2 separate regions of the Homo sapiens genome follow, and region 2 is linked to region 1. Evidence: promoter capture Hi-C in human tissues and cell types (Jung and others, 2019). All regions are on one chromosome and are shown on one strand. The core of a region is centred on a gene start or on the middle of the fragment in contact, and the rest is flanking DNA. Distances in the headings are between cores, read along the strand shown.

Evidence for each region. Contacts are between HindIII fragments. The study calls those that stand out against the background at their distance.
Region 2: a fragment that was not itself captured here is called in contact with the fragment with the promoter of CYP4F2 in region 1 in 1 of the 25 tissues and cell types used here (dorsolateral prefrontal cortex).

What each region holds. Positions count from the first base shown.
Region 1 is chr19:15,894,688-15,900,785 of GRCh38, forward strand. It overlaps CYP4F2 (cytochrome P450 family 4 subfamily F member 2), which reads right to left and starts at 3,387. Exons shown (of 13, transcript NM_001082.5): 1 at 3,339-3,387; 2 at 2,727-2,925; 3 at 819-963. The coding sequence starts at 2,924. The HindIII fragment of the contact is 5,329 bases long and covers 603-5,931 here.
Region 2 is chr19:14,817,016-14,823,113 of GRCh38, forward strand. All of the region lies in intron 1 of OR7C1 (olfactory receptor family 7 subfamily C member 1), which reads right to left. Among named protein-coding and RNA genes, the nearest start is that of OR7A5, 15 kb to the right of the region's middle. The HindIII fragment of the contact is 5,601 bases long and covers 790-6,098 here.

The DNA of each region.
Region 1 (6,098 bases), core at 2,137-4,636:
AGCCCAGAGTCACTCAGCATTTTGAGGTCAGAGCCATGGTCTCTGTAGGATGCTGCCCATTCCCCCTGCTCAGCCTCGCCCGTCCAACGATGGGAAGCACAGGGGTCAAGGAAAGGGACCCAAGCTGGGGTGGAGTCTCCTCTTGGAGATCCCCGGGACCTGCAGCAGGAGAGCAACGAACTTAGGGCAGACAAGCTATAGGATGGGGTAAAGGGAATTGACCCACCAGAGGTGGACATCATGGAAGTAGCAGCCCAGATCCCCCACCAGCCACAAGTCCTCCTCATTGTTCTAGGCTTTGGGACAGGCAAGGTGATGCTAGGCCTGGCAAGGGGCCTTGAATACTAACGATGTCCAATTGCCTCACCCTGCACTCTCCTTTCAAACATTCCTACTCATTGTTCCAGACACAGCTCCAGTAACTCCTCCTCTAGGAAGCCTTCCAGCCTGCCCCAGCAGAGACCTTGTTCTTCCCTGGGCTGTGATCCATCTCCCTCTGGCCCTTTCCTGATCCCATGAAGTTGGGGATATCTCTATCCAGGTCCATCTCCTTAAAGTTGGGGGTTCCTCCAGGACTGGGCCTTGGGTTGAGGTCTCTTAGGGTTCCAGGGCAGCCCAGAACACCAGAACAGGGGGTAGATGGCAATAGAGAGAGGAGACGCTGAGATGGAAATTGATGAATACATGAAAGAAAGATGAAGATAGCTGAGAGGGAAGGAAAGGAGAGGCCAGAGTACTGCAGGGCCCACACAGGAGCTTGGGGATAGCGGAAGTGCAGGCCTCAAATGCACTGCCCCACCAGCTGTTCCAGATGGTACCTGAGGCGTTGATGACAGACCGGATGATGTCGGGGTGGCACAAACTGAGGAGGGGGGAGATGGGTCCCATCCAGACCTTAAAGCCCTGGGGGTAGGTGGCCACCAGCTGAGTCAGAACTCTCATGCCCTCCTCTGTGGGGTTGACCTGCAAGCAAGGCAGGGGTCATTACCTTCTGTGATAGTTAATTCTAGGTGTCTACTTGACTGGGCTAAGGGATGCCCAGGTAGTTGGTCAAACATTATTTCTGGGTGTGTCTAATCTATTCATCCTATCTATCTAATTTTTCTATCTATATATCTATCTGCCTACCCATCTATCCATCAATCCATTTTATCTGTGCTTTCATCCATCCATATATTCATCTGTCTGTCTGCTTATCATCTATTAATAGCCATCTATCCGTCTAATCTATCCATCATATATATCTACTCCATCTGTCTACATAATCTATCCATCCTATCTACTCTATCTACCCATCCATCCATCATCCATCCATCCATCCATCCTATCTGTGCATCCGTGTGTCCATGCATCCATATGTCCTATTATTTGTCTATCTATCTATCCATCCATCCATCCATCCATCCATCCATCCATCCATGCTATCTGTGCATCCATGTGTCCATGCATCCATCTATTCTATTATCTATCTACCTACGTGCCTGTCCATCCATCCATCCATCCATCTATCCATCCTATCTGTGCATCTATCTATCTATCCTATTAGCTATCTATCTATCTATCTATCTATCTATCTATCTATCTATCTACATTCCTCCTGCTCTATCTATCTATCTATCCACATTCCTCCTGCTCTATCTCTCTTGGGTCCATCTCCAAGTCCCAAGGGTGCATCCCAGGGCAGAGGGAGAAGACGCACTGTCCACTCACAGAGGCCCAGTTATCTTGAGAGGAAGGATTTTCTTTTTCTGGGAGTCATTTCAGCCCAGAGGCAGCTATATGGGGAGGTCCTCACAGGGGAGATTTGTGGGGAGCAGTATCGCCTCAGGACATGTCCCTAAGGCTGGTCCCCACATGCCTTCATGTCCTGGCTGATCCACAGAGGCTCCAGTTCCTCCCATGGAGAAGGTTCTGCACATGGGAGACCTTCCCTTTTCAGCAGCCACTAGTGGAGCAGAGGTGACTCTAACTGTCCATCAGGACAATGGCTCCCACCTGGGAGCAGCTTCTGCAGCAGGCTCTGTGCTAGTGTGTCCTGTGCACCCTTCCACTTTATCTGTGGACACATCCATCAATCCTGCCATTTGCAAATGAGCAGACTAAGACCACATTCCCCAAAGAGGAGAGCGGTCTAAGTCAGAGGGCAAGGTCACGGGGAGGAGAAAGGCCAAGGAAAGCTTCTGAAAGGTGAAGTGAGTGGCCAACTTTTATCTGGGTTTGGCAACAGGTCTCATTGATAAGAGGGAGATAAGAAGAAGAATATAAGAGAAAGGTGCCTTCGGGTGTAGTGGAAGTGGGAGACGGCCCATGCCTCTCCTCTGGCCCAGCTGTACCCTCATAACAGGAAATAGTCCAGGCAAGGAGAGGACCCTGGACAGTGGGCATAAGAAGCCTCGAGTCCAGCAATGGAGAATGTGGGAATGCCAGGGACTCGCCTCTCTGTGCAGCCAACCCTCTGCCCAGGAGCCCCGCAGAGGTGCATTAATGTGGGAAGACAGGCAGGAAAAGGATTCAATGCAGGCCTGGAGTGGGAGGACAAGGAAGTGAGAAGGGCTTGCGTAGGCACCTCACAGAAATGAATAAGCAGAGGAATGAGTAAGATGCCTCCTCTGCTTCTCTGCCACCCCAGATCCCAGCCCACCCCTTCACCCCCACTCCCTAAGCCTCGTACCCCTCAGGAAGTCCATCCATCCTGAGACCTAGACCCATCCTGCTGCCACACTCACCATGCCCTGGTGTCCCCAAAACCAGTTCCGTCTTGGGGGTTGTGGGAAACACCGAAGGCGGCGGCAGTTGTCATAGAAGGCGTAGGTCCAGGCCAGGACATGGGCCAGGAGCCAGGAGGCCCCGACCAGCAGGAGGAGCAGCCAAGGGGATGCTGCCACTGGCCAGAGGCCCAGCCAGGACAGGCTCAGCTGGGACATCCTGCAGGGCAGACGGGATGGACGGTGAGATCCTGAGGCCCAGAGAACGGCCCAGGGACCTCCAGGGACAGTGGAGAGGCAGGGACGGGCAGTGCCGGAGGTAGAGCAGGGAGGGCTCAGGGATGGGTAAAAAGGGGCTGAGAGGTAAAGTCCAGAAAGGCCCAACCAAAACCAGCAGCCAAGTGGCCTCCAGTTCCCTAGTAAGCACTTAGAATGGGAAAGAGAGAGAGAGACTGATTAAAGTCCAGAAAGGCCCAGCCTGAATCACTGTGAGGTTGCCAGGGGCTTGGTTTCAGTTACTCGGAAACCACCCATCCTCCAGGCCAGCACCCAGGAGCTGCGTGGGCCTTGGGCAGTGCCCCTCTCCATCCCAGGCCAGGACCCCCCCCAGGCCTGCCACCCCCAGCCTGGCACCTTCTGTCAGGAGCAGTCTGTCCCAGACAACCTCCTCTCTCTGTCTGCTGGGAGGCCTTTGACCCTGGCCCTTGATATAGCAAAGGCTGTGGGAGGGCTGGCTGGGTTGGGCTGGGCCAACCAATCCCTGCAGCCTGGATGTGTCTCCTGAGCCTGGGCAGCCAATCAACACCTGGCGTCAGGCCAGCTGGGTGCAGAGGAATCAGCTCAGGGTCCAGATGGATGGGTAGATGCACAGATAGATAGAGTAGATAGGATGGATACATTAGGTAGATAGATAAAGTAGATATAGATAATGGATATATTAGACAGATGGATAGATAGCTATTAATAGATGATAGATAGATACATAGATAATAGGATAAATAGATGGAATGGATAAACGTACAGCTAAGATGGATTGATGGATGGATGGGTAGGCAAATATATATATAGATGAGAAATTAGATAGATAGGATGAATAGATTAGATAGACACACCCAGAAATAATGTTCCATCTCTGTCCCAGATATGTGGGATCCTCATTTGTGACATGGGAACTAGGGATCTTGGATCACTCCAATCACTCCAGATGCTACAAGGCCAGTGACTTACTCAGTATGATGCTGAGGAACATGACCATCAGAAACAGGATCAGAGTCACTCTCAAGCAAAAAAAAAAAAAAAAAAAAAAAAAAAAAAAAAAAAAACTCCAAGGATTAAATGATTTTTCCCATTGTCCTGGGGAGAAATTAATCCAAGGGAGGTCACAGGAGGGCAAATAATTCCCCATCACCACCACCACCACCATGAGCATACCATCACCCATGGAGTTTTCTGATTTACTCTTTGGCCCATTAAGCGTGAAATTTCTTATGCTAGGTTTCTTTCTGATAAGGGAGAAGAGATTAGTATCTCTACATTTCCTCTCCTCCTGCTACCTAGTCTCTGTATTCTAGGTTAAATTATAATTTATGTTGAGGATTTACAATGGCTGATACACCTAGCTGAGCCTTCTGCACAGAGATACATTGGGAGTGGAGGTTAATTGGGTCAAAGGAGAAATGCCATAAGCCCACACTCCAGCCTATCAGGGTGGATTAAAGGTCTGATTTGCCCAACTCTTGTCACACCTGCTCCCACTGAGAGGTGACAGCATGCTGGCAGTCCTCACAGCCCTCACTCGCTCTCGGCGCCTCCTCTGCCTGGGCTCCCACTTTGGCGGCACTTGAGGAGCCCTTCAGCCCACCGCTGCACTGTGGGAGCCCCTTTCTTTTCTCTTCTTTTCTTTTTTTTTGGATTTTTTTATTATTATTATTATACTTTAAGTTTTAGGGTACATGCGCACAATGTGCAGGTTAGTTACATATGTATACATGTGCCATGCTGGTGCGCTGCACCCACTAACTCGTCATCTAGCATTAGGTATATCTCCCAATGCTATCCCTCCCCCCTCCCCCCACCCCACAACAGTCCCCAGAGTGTGATGTTCCCCTTCCTGTGTCCATATGTTCTCATTGTGTAGGGACATGGATGAAATTGGAAATCATCATTCTCAGTAAACTATCGCAAGAACAAAAAACCAAACACCGCATATTCTCACTTATAGGTGTAGGAGCCCCTTTCTAGGCTGGCCAAGGCCAGAGCCGGCTCCCTCAGCTTGCAGGGAGGTATGGAGGGAGAGGCGCGAGTACGAACCGGGGCTGCGCGCGGCACTTGCGGGCCAGCTAGAGTTCCAGGTGGGCGTAGGCTTGGCAGGCCCCGCACTCGGAGCAGCCGGCCGGCCCTGCCAGCCCCGGGCAATGAGGGGCTTAGCACCCGGGCCAGCGGCTGCTCGGGAAGGTGTACTCGGTCCCCCAGCAGTGCCAGCCCACCGGCGCTGCGCTCGATTTCTCGCCGGGCCTTAGCTGCCTTCCCGCGGGGCAGGGCCCAGGACCTGCAGCCCGCCATGCCTGAGCCCCCGGCCTCCGTAGGTTCCTGTGCAGCCCGAGCCTCCCCGATGAGCGCCGCCCCCTGCTCCAGGGCGCCCAGTCCCATCGACCACCCAAGGGCTGAGGAGTGCGAGCGCACGGCGCGGGACTGGCAGGCAGCTCCACCTGCAGCCCCGGTGCGGGATCCACTGGGTGAAGCCAGCTGGGCTTCTGAGTCTGGTGGGGACGTGGAGAACCTTTGTGTCTAGCTCAAGGATTGTGAACGCACCAATCAGCGCCCTGTCAAAACAGACCACTTGGCTCTACCAATCAGCAGGACATAGGTAGGGCCAGATAAGAGAATAAAAGCAGGCTGCCCGAGCCAGCAGTGGCAACCCGCTCAGGCCCCCTTCCACATTGTGGAAGCTTTGTTCTTTCACTCTTTGCAATAAATCTTGCTGCTGCTCACTCTTTAGGTTCACACTGCTTTTATGAGCTGTAACACTCACCGCGAAAGTCTGCAGCTTCACTCCTGAGCCAGCGAGACCACGAACCCACCAGAAGGAAGAAACTCCGAACACATCTGAACATCAGAAAGAACAAACTCCAGACGCGCCACCTTAAGAGCTGTAACACTCACCGCGAGGGTCCGCGGCTTCATTCTTGAAGTCAGTGAGACCAAGAACCCACCAATTCCGGACACACCATTGTCTGAGTAAGTTTGGGTGCCAGGACTATGAGGTCGTGTGAAGACTTCCAGCCCCATACCTGCAGAACAGTCTGCAGCTCACTCTGCTCTGAACTGCCCCAACTTTGCACAGATATTCTCCATTCCTCGAAATGAAACTGTATCCTTCAAAGCTCACACATT
Region 2 (6,098 bases), core at 2,340-4,839, 1.1 Mb before region 1:
AGATACAGGGAGCTGTGGCCCTCAGAGAATACAATAGAGAAAAAAAATGTCTAACAAACCCACTAATAGATTAACCCTCACAAGGAAATAATTGCAAAGTAAAGCTTGCTATCATACCCCAAAAGTAGGCTAGCTAATCTGAGTCCCAGACTGGGGACTGGGCTGAATGGGACCCTTCAGCCCATTCCAGGTGGGAATGGAAGTTCAATTGTTAAGACTCTGCACAGGACATGATCTCATTCCTTTTTATGGCTGCATAGTATTCCATGGTGTATATGTACCACGTTTTCTTCAACCAGTCTGTTGTTGATGGGCATTTAGGTCGAGTCCATGTTTTCACTCCAATTAATGGATCTACTTTAAAAAATAGTGGTCATCTTTTGCCGCTATGTAGAACATAAATCTGGCTAGAGGACCTATGCCTCACTCTTTCCTGCTGTCTCGTCTGGGGACAGAGCTTCATCCTCTATCATCAACCATTCAGGGTAAAATTCAGACTTCCATCTGGAGATCCTCTTCTCTGAGACCCCATCCAGGTGAGCCCAGGAGCCCTCAGCAGGTTTCATGGGAAAGGTTCAGAGAGAACGGAAGCTGGGAATGTTTACCTGAAGTCACCTGAGAGCCAATCCAACTTAGGCCAGCGCCAAGAGGTTGCTATGTTTGTTTGCTTAGTTGACTGATTATTTCATAATCAATCTATTTAGTATGCTAAAAAGAGCAGTGTCTGTTAGACTCAGCAATGCAGAGACCACTGCTGACAATTAAGTGGTGGGAATGGAATTCCAATTGGTAAGACTGAAGAAGGAATGGGAGCTAAAAAGTGGTGCTGGTAACATCAGTTCATAGTCAAGGAGTTTTGCAGGTAAGAGAGAAAAAAAACTGAGTATTAAGTGTAAAGGATATGCAGCAAAGTGAGGGCTTTTAAAATATTTTTAATATTGGGTGTATTTTGAGTATGTTCCTGTATCCATTAAAAAGATCACACCAATGTATTATTTGCAAATGCTACCTTGCCACAGCAGTTAATAAGTCATACATTTTATTTATTTTATTTATTTATTTATTTATTTATTTATTTATTTATTTATTTTTGAGACGGAGTCTCGCTCTGTCCCCTAGACTGGAGCGCAGTAGTGGCACGATCTCGGCTCACTGCAAGCTCCGCCTCCCAGGTTCACGGCGTTCTCTTGCCTCAGCCTCCCGAGTAGCTGCGACTACAGTTGCCCGCCACTACGCCCGGCTAATTTTTTTGAATTTTTTAGTAGAGATGGGGTTTCACCGTGTAACCCAGGATGGTCTCGATCTCCTGACCTCGTGATCCGCCCGTCTCTGCCTCCCAAAGTGCTGGGATTACAGGCGTGAGCCACCGCGCCCGGCTGATAAGTCATACATTTTAAAGTATCTTTTCTCATGCGGGTTATCCAGATGAAAAAAATATGTTTATTTAATAAGTGAAAAGGGGTATGATAGCAAGCTTTACTTTGCAATTACTTCCTTACTTGTGAGGCTTAATCGATTAGTGGGTTTGTTAGATAGTTCCTGTTTCTATTGCAAACAGTCTTTGCGAGATCTTTGCTTTTGTATAGCGAGTTTGCAGTGTTTTCATTCCTGTATTTGATTGCATTTTTTTCAAACATAAGAATGGGAGTTGGTGAACGTTTTTTCACCAACGTTGTTGTTTGCCATTTAGTTCTTTTTGTATTTATAGATGCGCTTGGGGTGAATGCGTTAAAGTTTATCAGTTTTGTGCGGTCAGGTCTATCAGTGGGTCACACTGTGTATCTCCCTTCTGTTGCATTTTAGATAGTTTAGAGAGTTTAAAAAGCTTTCTACATATTTCATCGCAATAAATCACCTTTTATATGTATTTCCACCTTATTTCACACATTTTTTTCTTTCTTTTTTATTATACTTTAAGTTTTAGGGTACATGTGCACAACACGCAGGTTGGTTACATATGTACACATGTGCCATGTTGGCGTGCTGCACCTATTAACTCGTCATTTAGCATTAGGTATATCTCCCCCCTCCCCCTGCCCCATAACAGTCCCCGGTGTGTGATATTCCCCTTCCTGTGTCCACATCTTTTTTCTTTATTGCCACCTTTCTTTTTTCTTTTTTGCAATCAGATCTATTTTTTTTAAATTTAAAATTTTATTTTAATTTCGGGGGTACATGTGCAGGATATGCAGGTTTGTTACATAGGTAAACATGTGCCATGGTGGTTTGCTGCACCCATCAACCCATCACCTAGGTATTAAGCCCAGCATGCATTAGCTATTTTTTTTAATGCTCTCCTTCCCCTCACCCCCACCCCCTGACAGGCTCCAGTGTGTGTCGTTCCCCTCCCTGTGTCCCCGTGTTCTCACTCTTCAGCTCCCAGTTATAAGTGGGAACATGTGGTATTTGGTTTTCTGTTCCTGGGTCAGTTTGCTGAGGATAATGGCTTTCAGCTCCAGCCACATCCCTGCAAAGGACATGATCTTATTCCTTTATATGGCTGCATAGTATTCCAGGGTGTATATGTACTACATTTTCTTTAACCAGTCTATTGTTGATGGGCATTTAGGTTGATTCCACGTTTCCAATTAATCAGAACTACTTTTAAAAATAGTGGTTATCTTTTGCCACTATGTGGAACATATTCTTATACCCACGTTGAGATTTCCTGTGTATTCTTCATGTAAGCATATTTTAATCCATTTCAGTTTGTATAAGATGAAATCATAACTTTACATACTGTTGTTTTCTTCCACTGCTTTAAGAAAGTATATTTTTATATTCTTTCATTTCCAAGTTTTTGTCAACTTAATCTCAAATTCGAAACCCATGTTGATGTGATTAATGGTTATTTTCTATCTTTTTCTTTGATCATTTATTTTATTTTTATGCGTTTATTTATTTATTTAGAGATACAGTCTCGCTCTGTCACCCAGCCTGGAGTGCAGTGGCACAATTTCAGCTCACTGCAGCCTCAACCTCTTGGGTTCAAGTGATTCTTGTGCCTCAGCCTCCCGAGTAGCTGGGATTACAGGCATGCGCCGCCACTCTGCCCAGCTAATTTTTTGTATTTGTAGTAGAGACAGGGTTTTACCATGGCAGTCAGGCTGGTCTCAAACTCCTGGCCTCAGGTTGATCTGCCCACCTTGGCCTCCCAAAGTGCTGGGATTACAGGCATGAGCCACTGCGCCGGGATAGATCATTTATTTTAGAATTTTATTCAGTTTTGTTCAATGTGGTTGTTTTGAATCCACCTTATTTAACCAAGCTTTATTTTCCCAGCCATTCCTTTTGTTTAATAAGTTCTTAATTTAAAAAAATGTGTTTCTCAATGAAAATACATGGACATGGGGAGGGGAACATCACACATGGGGGCCTGTTGGGGGGTCGGGGGCAAGGGGAGGGAGATCATTAGGACAAATACCTAATGCATGAGGGGCTTAAAACCTAGATGACGGGTTGACAGGTGCAGCAAACCACCATGGCACATGTATAGCTATGTAACAAACCTGCACGTTCTGCACATGTATCCCAGACCTTAAAGAAAAAAAATCACACAGGAAAAAAAAAAGTGTTCCTATGTAGACGTACAACTTTTTGTGAAACCACAACAGTGAAGAAAGCAGGTGAAATCCCTGCTAATTTAGATCTTACCTTGTAATGGAAAGGGCAGAAAACAATGGAATAAATGTGTGTCTGACATAAAGTCCCCAGAGGTAAGTCATATGAAGAAAAATGATAGATTGTCGTGGCAGGGGCAGGATTTTCTAAAGTATGGTCTGGGGAGGTCTTTGCATCTTGCACGAGGAACGGAATTGGACTAGAGAGTGCCCACTGGATTTGTCAGAAAAGAGGGAAAAACTCAATACCTGGGAATTACAAAGAACAGATCCCACAAGGAAAAGTGAGAGAAAGGCCTGCCTCATCTACTACTGGACCATATAAAAACATGTGTGGGCCGGGCATGGTGGCTCACACCTGTAATCCCAGCACTTTGGGAGGCTGAGGTGGGTGGATCACGAGACCTGCCTGGCCAACATGGTGAAACCCTGTCTCTACTAAAAATACAAAAATTAGCTGGGTGTAGTGGCAGGTGCCTGTAATCCCAGCTACTTGGGAGGCTGAGGCAGGAGAATCGTTTGAACCTGGGAGGTGGAGGTTGCTGTGAGCTGAGATCGCGCCATTGCACTCCAGCCTGGGTGACAAGAGTGAAACTCTGTCTCAAAGCAAAAATAAAAACAAAAACAAAACATGTGTGGTCCATAAATATGGAATAGATACAGGAATAACAATTAGATCAGGGGTCTGATGTGAATTCTGTAATGAGGCAAGTGGATCAATGAAATTCTGCTCAGGGTATGGGCCCTGGAGTCCGGAGATAATGTCAGTTCTACGCTGGCTACCTGTTCTCCCAACAGTGTGGCTCTTCTCTTGAGCTCTTCATTCAGGCTGCATTTCCCAGGAACTTGCCTTAAAAACAAAAAACAAAAAACAAAACAAAACTATTCCGCCTTTACTGCAGTGGATTCCACACTCTTTGTGTCTGAAAGTAAGAAATACCTTTTACATCATGAGCCAGCATGCCTGCACATGCAAATATACACACACAGGTGGCTGAAGAAAGAGTATCATGAAACTAGTTTGTAGGTACCCTTATCATATATGATGTGCTTGAATATTTTCTTCTGCATTTTATTCATTCTATGCTATTTAAATCTTACGTACCATAGCACAACCCCTCAATCAGTCCCAATCTCAGAATATGGACAACATTCTCCTAGTGTGTCCTCCACACCTGTGTTAGCATCTCCCTGTATCTTTTATTTCCTCATCAGCAATTGCTGGGACAACACAAAATGTCCCTCACCATTGTCACCATTCTTCTTTCTACTTCTATGAGTTCATTATCATTTTAAGATTCCCCATGTACGAGTGTGCAGAATTTGTTTCACTGTGCCTGGCTTATCATTTAATGTAATGTCCTCCAGGTTCATCCGTGTGGTCACAAATGACAGGATTTCCTTCTTTTTAAAGGCTGAGTGGTGTTCTATTGTGGATATGCACCACGTATTCTTGATCTATTCATTCTTTGGCGGACACTGAGGTTGACTCCATATGTTGGCTTTTGTAAATAGTGTTGCAACGAATGCGGAAGTGCAGATATCTCTTCAACATACTGATTTCATTTCCTTTGGCTATATATGCAGTCATGGGATTATACACATATGGTAGTTCTATTTTTAGTTTTTTGGAGAACCCCCAACTATTTTCTATAATGCTTGTACTACCTTAAGTTTCCACCAAAAAGGTACATGGGCTCCCTTTTCTCCAGATCCTCATCAGCACTTATCTCCTGTCTTTTTTTTTTTTTTTTTTTTTTTTTTTTTGAGATGGAGTCTCGCTCTGTCGCCCAGGCTAGAGTGCAGTGGTGCGATCTCAGCTCACTGCAACCTCCACCACCCAAGTTCAAGCAATTCTCCTGCCTCAGCCTCCTGAGTAGCTGGCATTACAGGTGCCCGCCACTGCGCCGGCTAATTTTTGTATTTTTAGTAGAGATGGGGTTTCACCGTCTTGGCCAGGCTGGTCTTCAACTCTTGACCTCGTGATCCACCCGCCTCAGCCTCCCAAAGTGCTGGGATTACAGGCATGAGCCACCGCACCCAGCCACCTGCCTTTTTTATAATAGCCGTCCTAACAGGTTTGAGGTGACATCTCATTGTGGTTATAATGTACATTTCTCTGATAATCAGTGATGTTGAGCATTTTTTCATGTACCTGTTGGCCAGCTGTATGTCTTCTATTGAGACATGTCTCTTCATGTCCTCTGCCTATTTTTTTTTTTTTAAACTGGGTTACTTGTTTCCTTGATGTTGAGTTTCTTCTATATTGGGATATTAACCCCTTATCATATGTGTGGTTTGCAAATGTTTTCTCTCCTTCCATAGGTTGCCTCTCTGTTGATTGTTTTCTTTGCTGTGCAGAAGGTTTTTAATTTGATGTAATCCCACTTGTCTATTTTCACTTTCGTTGCCTGTGTTTTGAGGGGTATATTTTAAAACCATTGCCCAGACTACTGCTTTCTGCCTATATTTTATTCT